Regions from separate parts of the Homo sapiens genome. Here region 1 is linked to region 2. The links are contacts of gene promoters, found by promoter capture Hi-C in blood cells and fetal thymus (Javierre and others, 2016). All regions are on one chromosome and are shown on one strand. The core of a region is centred on a gene start or on the middle of the fragment in contact, and the rest is flanking DNA. Distances in the headings are between cores, read along the strand shown. Region 1 has its middle 130 kb from the start of SEM1. Region 2 holds the start of SLC25A13 (solute carrier family 25 member 13).

Region 1 (4,266 bases), core at 1,314-3,813, 520 kb after region 2:
TAGCAAGTATGGTCTATAGCTGAGAATAAAGTCTGTGACTGTGTAAGTCAAGATAACCGGCTGTGGGCCAGGTGCGGTGGCTCACTCCTGTAATCACACCACTTTGGGAGGCCGAGGCAAGCGGATTACCTCAGGTCAGGAGTTTGAGACCAGCCTGGCCAACATGGCAAAACCCTGTCTCTACTAAAAATACAAAAATTATCTTGGCATGGTGGTGCATCCCTGTAATCCCAGCTGCTAGGGAGGCTGAGGCAGGAGAATCCCTTGAACCAGGGAGATGGAGGTTGCAGGAGAATCGCTTGAACCTGGTGGAGGTTGCAGTGAGCCAAGATCGTGCCGCTGCACTCCAGCCTAGGCAACAGAGCCAGAGTCCATCTCAAAATAACAAATAAATAACAACAACAACAAAAACAGACAATAGGCTGTGATCATTGTCTCCAGGAAAGGTGTGGCGAATAATGGTCAATTAGACCTCACAAGATAAATACATAAAGGTATAACCAACAGAATTGTGCTACAAGCTCTATTCTGATTGGAGAAATTTTGTGTCTCTAAATTATTCTCACATGATTTTTAACACAGATAAAAGTGAAAATAAAGCCCCAAGAAACCCATGCTCTCCTTTGCTTGAAAATCCTCCCACTGGCAAGATAGTGAGTTTACTCATGGTTTGTTTGTCACTGCATAACCTGTAACTCCACCCCTATGTAAGCTCTTCCACCTTTACATATTAGAATTTCAACAGCTATAATCAGTCTGTCCAGTTCAGATATTTATTTGCAGCAATAGGTGACTTCGTTGTGAAGACAACAAAAGTGTCCTTTTAAAGCATGAGAACTACACATGTACTACACTGTATGGTTATGAATAATTACTTTCCCTTTACTCTGAAAGAGATTCTGATCATTTCAGTGTTCCTCGCCACCAAGGAAGTGGTGAAACTCTTAGCTAGATGTGGTTAAGGGGTTACTCTTGAATCTGAGTTCTCTTTTCCTCTGGGTTTTGCTGAACTCTTTCTTCTGTCTGGGCTTTTATGACTATTGGTGGGTTTTCTCAGTCATTCAAGCTGCAGTTGCTCAAAGTGCCCTTGAAGCAGGGATTTTCTATTAATAGTATTTTTAAAGATGTTTGCTTCTTCTCAACTTCCTCAGAAAATTCAGTCCCTAGTTACATAAGAGGCTGGAAATGCCTGCCCTCTCTATTTGTTGCCTTAAATTTTCTTTGAGCACTGTTCCTTCTGTTTTCTCCTTGTGCAAAATAGAAGTGGTTGCTTGTACCAGAAGAAAACTGAAATTCTACAAATATACATCAGGATCGCATTCTGTCCCACTATTATTTTCAGGAAGAACTATATTATGATACTTTTTCTGTAACAATATTAAATGCACATGGACTAGCCATAAGAGAACTCATCAGCATCCCAGATTAGATTTTATATGCCTAAGTCTTTCATTTGAGATAGTGTCAATGTTGATTGAGTGGTTTCTGCTGTACTGAGCATCTACCTACCTTTAGTTTCACTGAGGCACCTAAGAAACGGTCAAGCCCTTAGTTCTTCCCATTCCTTCACATATTTTCCTCTGTTCCTGGCTCTTAGTGTTTTATCTGTTTTCAATTTCAGTTACAGTGAGTATACACTGTCCTCCTGAGCTCTTTTCCCAGAGACTCTCCGCTGCTATTCCAAAGGGCCTAAACTTCTATTCTGTCTGTCAAAGATGGTTAATACATGAGTATTAACGTCCAGTTTTTTTATATAGTAATTGAAAGTTTGCCTGCTGTGTACAAGACTGCCCTGCTGGCCAGGAACCCGACTGGACATAGCATTTGCCAGCCACCTGCTGGGAACAACAGTGCAGCGAGACAGACAGTGAACTCTGTTACCCAACAGGCATTTGCCAGGGCCTGATTTCTGCGATTCAGCGATGTACCTTTCAAAGGCTCTTCATCCAACTGCAAATCTTCCCTTCACTCATCTACTTGTTTGGATTCAGAAGATAGCACTTGCCACAAAGAGACACATTCCCTAATAACGTTTTATTCTTTTCTCTCGACCAACCTCTCTTTAATTCCCTGCATGTGGTAAGCTTCCTCAAAGTCTTCTGACTATCCACCCTGAGCCCATATCCTTGCATCTTTGTTTCCCTTTTTCACCATTATCACTCCAGAGAGATTCTCTTTGTAATCTTGGTCAGCTTTACAGACTCATCCTTTGTAATGGTTTGTATTAATATCTTTTCCTTTCTATAGCATCCTGTAGGGTTTTCAAAACCTTTTGATTTTGTTTTTCCTTTGTGACTTTCTTATGGTTTCATTTTGCATTTGTTTAGATACTTGCAATCTGATTGACACATCTGTCAAGATCAATTTTTTTACGCACTCTCTGCTTGGCTTCTAAGATTCATTTCGGCAGCTTCATTGTGGTTTGTTCATCTTTCTTGACTTTCCCTACAATCCAGAGTACTGTAGATGATTAGTGTAGCTTTCTCAGCATGCTTTTCACAGCCATCACAAGGCTTGGGAACTCTTGCAAAGGTCTAAGATTTTTGCAACATTAACTTTTAGGTCACCTTAGTGAATTTATAAAGGTGATTTATATTCTCTTCTCTACAATGAATAAACTTCTTTTGTCCTTTATGGGAGTACTCAAGAGCCCATGGTTTCCATCCTATTTCATTTCCTCTTATTTCTTAACCTTCTTTTCATTGATTTGTACTAATATATCAATGTGCTTGGCTCCTTTTTTAATGATCTATGCCTGTTTCTAAGATTTTAAGTCAATCCCATGGATAATGAATTTGTATTTCTCCTTTCCCCAAATTGTGGTTTTTATCAACATAATGCCTATATATTCAAATAGGTTATTTAGGCATGAGGCATAAATGTAAATATTCTTCATCGCATATGTGTTGAAAACATCCAACACTAGATGTGTAGCTTCTAACTTTGAGAATTTGATTGGAGAACTACAGGAATTACTTTTTTCTGCCTTTTGAGTCTGTAGAAGAGAATGATTTTCAAATATTCTACATTTTCTGACTTTCCTAAAGCTTAATCCCATTAATGACTTATAAGGGTAATTGAGATTTCTCTTGTTTAATATCCCTATATGTGCTTAGAGGCTGTTATGCCTCATTTTAGGTTTTTTTCCTTTCAAGTGAACATGCCAAGCAGTCTGCACCCTTTATTTAGAGGCTGACATACAAACCCTTTATCAACTTGTTGTTCTCCTTTGAACTCTTTCCAATTTACTTGAATTTTAAAACCTTAGTTGCACATTTAGCCACATTTTCTGTAGTTCCAGAGTACAAAAAGAATGTTGTGCTCACTCTGCCTCTTGCTCACTCTCCACTTTGTGAATTGTCATGATCTGCTTGAACCCCTTCACACCTAACAAGAGCCTGATCCTGTGCCTGGCATCCCAAAGCCTCCCCCCAACCAGGTACATCTGGCTCCCGTGAACAATAATGGTTCCCTCCTCCAACATGGCAATTGCTTTACAAGGGAGTTGGCATCAGAGTATGTAGTTTTCAGACTCTTTGGTACTGAAGAAATCATTCTGCCCTTTATAACCAAAAAATGACCAAGTTACCTATGTGTCAAGACGGGCCTTAAAAAAGGAATTTTTTGCAAAATATTTATTAGTTTGGTAGATGGCCATGTTGGTTGGCATTCTCATATGAGGCGTATCTGGAAATATCCCTTCTTCTGTCAAACTCTGCACAATCAATTCAATCACTCTGCCTCCCTGTTGGGTCTTGGTTTCTCAAAGATAATTTTGATAAGTTTGTTGATGTTGTATCTGTTTTGCCAATTTGCAAGGGAAAAAGATAAACTTTAATAAAAAGTGGAGGACATTAAGAGAATAAAAAAGATCTTTCAAAAGAAAGATAGTCAGACATAGATATAGATTCTAGCTAGTAATCAATTAGGGAAGTTAGGAAAAATTCATACCCTCTTCTGAAAATTCCCTTATCTATACATAGCCAAATATAAAATCAGGTTTATCATGAAACTAAAAAGATAAAGTTTTTTTTCTAGCAAGATGAAACTAATAAAAGAAGTCACATTTTCCCCCAATCAACAACAATTATAATAATATTAAATTCAATTTTCTTTTGCAAGACCCAGTTTTCTTTAGGATTGTTTATTTTCACCCCAAAAGAGGCATATCCCAACGAACCTTATGGCAAACTTAACTTTATATTTTTTACCTTCTCTTACCTTATCTCATAAGCTTGAGAATTTATGTCTTGCATTATTTTGTTG
Region 2 (3,892 bases), core at 89-2,588:
AGAAGCCTACGGATTTGGGGAGCCTGGAGAGACTTAAGTCATAGAACAGCATTTAAATATATTTGTCTGCTTACAATTTCCATTGCAAATGTGATTAGTTTGCTTGAATAAATAGGAATATGATGTGTTGGCCATGTTTTCCTCTTGAGGGTTATCACAGAGTTTTGATTAAGGACAAATGTTTGAAATGTTAGGTATATTTAAGTTCACTGCACTTAAAATGAGCTAAGAAGTTGTATAGGCTTGATTAGAGGGCTGCCTTCGTGAACTTAAATTAAAAGCAATAAATTCCAAATGATTCAAGTGATTGGGACTAAATATGGTATTCTGCCAGAGAAGTTGAAATGCAGTCCAAAGAGACTGAAATGGTGTCCAGGTTTCAAGAAATGGTGAAAGAGGAAAGGTCAAGTGTTGGAGTTGCCTTTCCTCTGGGTTAGTGAATGATTCACATTACACAGAACCCCTTTCAAGTACAACTTCACAGGAGTGACAGGCTCCCAGGACAATCTGTTTCATCGTTCCCAAAAAGAAGCCTCTCAAATGCTCCGAGGCGGGTATCTAAGTGTTGTCAGATGGAGAGAGGGAGGGGGAAGATGGGAATGATGGGAAAGCGGGGAGGGGGAGAGTCCCTGGACTTTTTATTCACAAAGGCGCAGACCAAGTCTCCTAGGCAGTTTCCAAAACGGAAGTCAAAGTAACTTCCCCACCCGCGGGAGGGCGGAGCCCTTGAAACGTAATAGGATCAGGCTTCAGCCCGGGCTCTGGCCCCTGGAAGAAGCCGGAGTCAACAACCAGCGGGGTCAGGAGCAGGAGCGCGCTGGGAAGGTAGAGAGGACCCCCAGCGCTTGCCGGCCCAGGGTGCACCAGGCCCCAGTCGCGCCCGCTCCTCCTCGTCGGCCCTGGCTCAGCCCCGTCAGGCACCAACTTCCCTCCCCGGCCAAGTGGGAGTGTCCGGCCCACAAAGTTTCCGCTGCGAGGTCGGGCCTCGGTCTCTGCACCGACCGCCTGTGCTGCCCGGGAGGAGTGGCCCCCTCCCTCCAGCAGCCGCAAGGTGGAACGGCTGCCCGGCACCCCATTTTGCTCCGCCTGTGGCACCAACCCAGACACGTGAGCGCCCGAGCCTCTCGCACCCCCAGGCTGATCCGGCAGGCGCGCTCCCCCCGGCCTCGGGCCCGCGGTTACCTTGGCGGCCGCCATGATTCGCCCCGGTTGCGGGCGACTGCGGGACCCACTGACTGGCTGGCTGGCGTTTGGGACCCGGGCGGCTCACTTCTAGTCCCGGCGGCGGCGGCGGTGGGGGCGGCGATACGGCCAGGCAGCGTGCGTTCCTGGCCTGCCTCCCCACGCCCTCCCGCCGGCGCGGGTCATGTGGATGCTGCCCGCCCATTGGCTGGGCCCAGCCTTGGCCGCCGGGGTGCGCGTGATCCAGCGGCCTCTGCCCTGCAGCCGGGGAGGGCTCAGATCCTGGGGCAGTGGCTGGACAGGGACACGTGACCCCGCTGCGCTGTCCAGCAGCGGCGGCCTCTGCGGCGTGGGCAGAGGTAACTTGGCCGTGTGCAAGCCCGTCACCTGAGGGCAGGTGGCCCCACCAGGGAAGCTGCTGGCTTCTGCTGATACCAGGGGCTACTGGGCCCTCGGACCGATGGGAGGGGCAAGTAACGACAGATGGTGCACGGCCTGGGGAAGTTGAGAACTCCACTAGGACACATACTTTGCTGGATATTTTTTCCCCTGTGCGTTCCCTTTGAAGGAGCTCCACTTTACACTGGATCCAAAAAGACTTTGATCCAAAAGCATTGACTTAGAAGGCGAGATTGCAAATATTGCTGGCACGCCTACTTTTAGATCAAAATCGGTGAACTCTTAAGAACCCAACAAGTGAATGTAGTGCAGAACGTATATTCATGAAACTACTCCATTTCAGCCCTACCTGTTAAAACGGTAGAAGTCAAAAGGCCCGGGTCAAAAGACTTCCCCCAAATAGGCCCTACTAAAATAAATAAACAAGCATTTTAATGAAAATTTGCTTATATGACCTCCAGGCCTTACTCCTCTTCATCAGGATTTCATTCTTCTGTCCTTGTAATCAAAATTTATAAGACAGTGGTGATCAGGGAAAAGGACTTTTAATGTATTGTAGGTTGTGGATGTAATATGGCAGCAAAAAGCACTTATTACTAATCAGTTTAATTCATTAACGTTGATTGAGTGCCTTCCTACTATGTGCTAGGCACTGTGCTTGGTGCTGGAAACCCCGAAATGACTTAAGAACTGGTTCCAACCGTTAAACAGCTTCAGGGCTATTGGGAAAGAGACACATAAATGTTTACTTCAGTATAACCTGTTAAGGCAGCAGACTGTTCCCAGGGCTCAATAAGAATACTGAGAATTCTCATGCCACTATGAAGAAATACCTGAGACTGGGTAATTTATAAACCAAAAGATTTAATTGACTCAGTTTCGCATGGTTTGGGAGACCTCAGGAAACTTACAGTTGTGGTGGAAGGCACCTCTTTACAGGGTTGCAGGAGAGAGAATGAGTGCCAAGCAAAGGGGGGAAAGCCCCTTGTAAAACCATCAGATCTCATAAGAACTCACTATCACAAGAACAGCATGGGAGTAACCGCCCCCATGATTCCGTTGTCTCTCACCGGGTCCTTCCCATGACATGTGGGGATTATGGGAACTACAATTTAAGATGAGATTTGGGTAGTGACACGGTCAAACCATATCAAAAGGTAACTTGATCTTGAGCTATGGGATTGGGGCAGTGGCACGACTAGTGGAAGGAGTCTGGCCCAGCAGGTAGGGGCTGTGTCATGGTGGGTCTTAGGCGCCTTGCTGAAGGGTATGCACCTTAACTGAAGGGTTTTAAGTCAGGAAGCAGCATGACTAGGTTTTCGATATAGAAAGATCTCTCTATGGTCTGAATGTGCCCCCCAAAATTGATGTGTTGGATACAATCTCTAATGCATCAGTGTTGGAAGGTTGGGTCCTTGGGGAGGTATTTTCATCACAAGGGCTCTGCCCTCATAAATGGATTAATGCTGCCATAAAAAGAGGTTTGGGGAGTGGGTTCACTCTCTCTTGCTCTTCTGCTCTTTTGCCATATAAGAACATAGCATTCCTCACCTTTGAAGGACACAGCATTCAAAGAGCCATCTTGGAAGCAGAGAAACCAGGCCGTAACCTGCCAGCACTTTGATCTTGGACTTCCTAGCGTCTAGAACTGTGAGAAATACATTTCCGTCCTGTTCTTCTAGTCTCAGGAATTCCCTTACAGCAACACAAAATGGACTAAAACACTGCTTGCAGTATGGAGGATGGGTTCCAACTGAACTACCAGGATGTCCAGACGAGACAGGCTGGGGATGGGCTAGGACTAGAGGAATACATAGAAGGTAAAATTAGTGGGGTTGGGACGGAAAAAGGGAGTTGTGCCATATTGCACATAGACTTGTGGTATGGGTGTCTGGAAAAACACCTGAGATTGGTAATTCAAGAGGAGTGTTTTGAGGTGTGTGAGTCTGTCTGTAAGGAGAATGTATGTCCAACATACAAATTATGTTGTAGAAGCTTAAGAAAGAAGCATTACAGAAAGAAGCAACTATTTAACCTACTCTCAAAAGGTTCAACAAAGCCCAGAAGACTTGACCATGTTCATAGGCAGAGAAGAAAGATCAGCAAAAAGTAAAAAAAAAAAAAAGACAAAAGGAAAACCAGGAGAATTGTTAGAGAAAATTATGACAAGGGGACAAGTCTGAAGCTCCTGTGGAGGATGGCCCCAGCTGCCACAAGGGGAGTGTAAAAGGAGGTGAGAAAATACAACCTCATGTAAAGAACAAAATTACATCATGTACCACGTATTTATTTTTAAGGGCATCATTAAAGC

Evidence for each region. Contacts are between HindIII fragments. The CHiCAGO score rates a contact against its expected background, and 5 or more counts as called.
Region 1: a fragment that was not itself captured here is called in contact with the fragment with the promoter of SLC25A13 in region 2 in 1 of 17 cell types (fetal thymus); the score reaches 5.0 in fetal thymus.

The regions. Positions count from the first base shown.
Region 1 is chr7:96,836,845-96,841,110 of GRCh38, forward strand. No RefSeq gene overlaps it. Among named protein-coding and RNA genes, the nearest start is that of SEM1, 130 kb to the left of the region's middle. The HindIII fragment of the contact is 963 bases long and covers 2,083-3,045 here.
Region 2 is chr7:96,320,760-96,324,651 of GRCh38, forward strand. It overlaps SLC25A13 (solute carrier family 25 member 13), which reads right to left and starts at 1,339. Exons shown (of 18, transcript NM_014251.3): 1 at 1,183-1,339. The coding sequence starts at 1,197. RefSeq lists a silencer at 1,135-1,474. The HindIII fragment of the contact is 9,010 bases long and covers 1-3,574 here.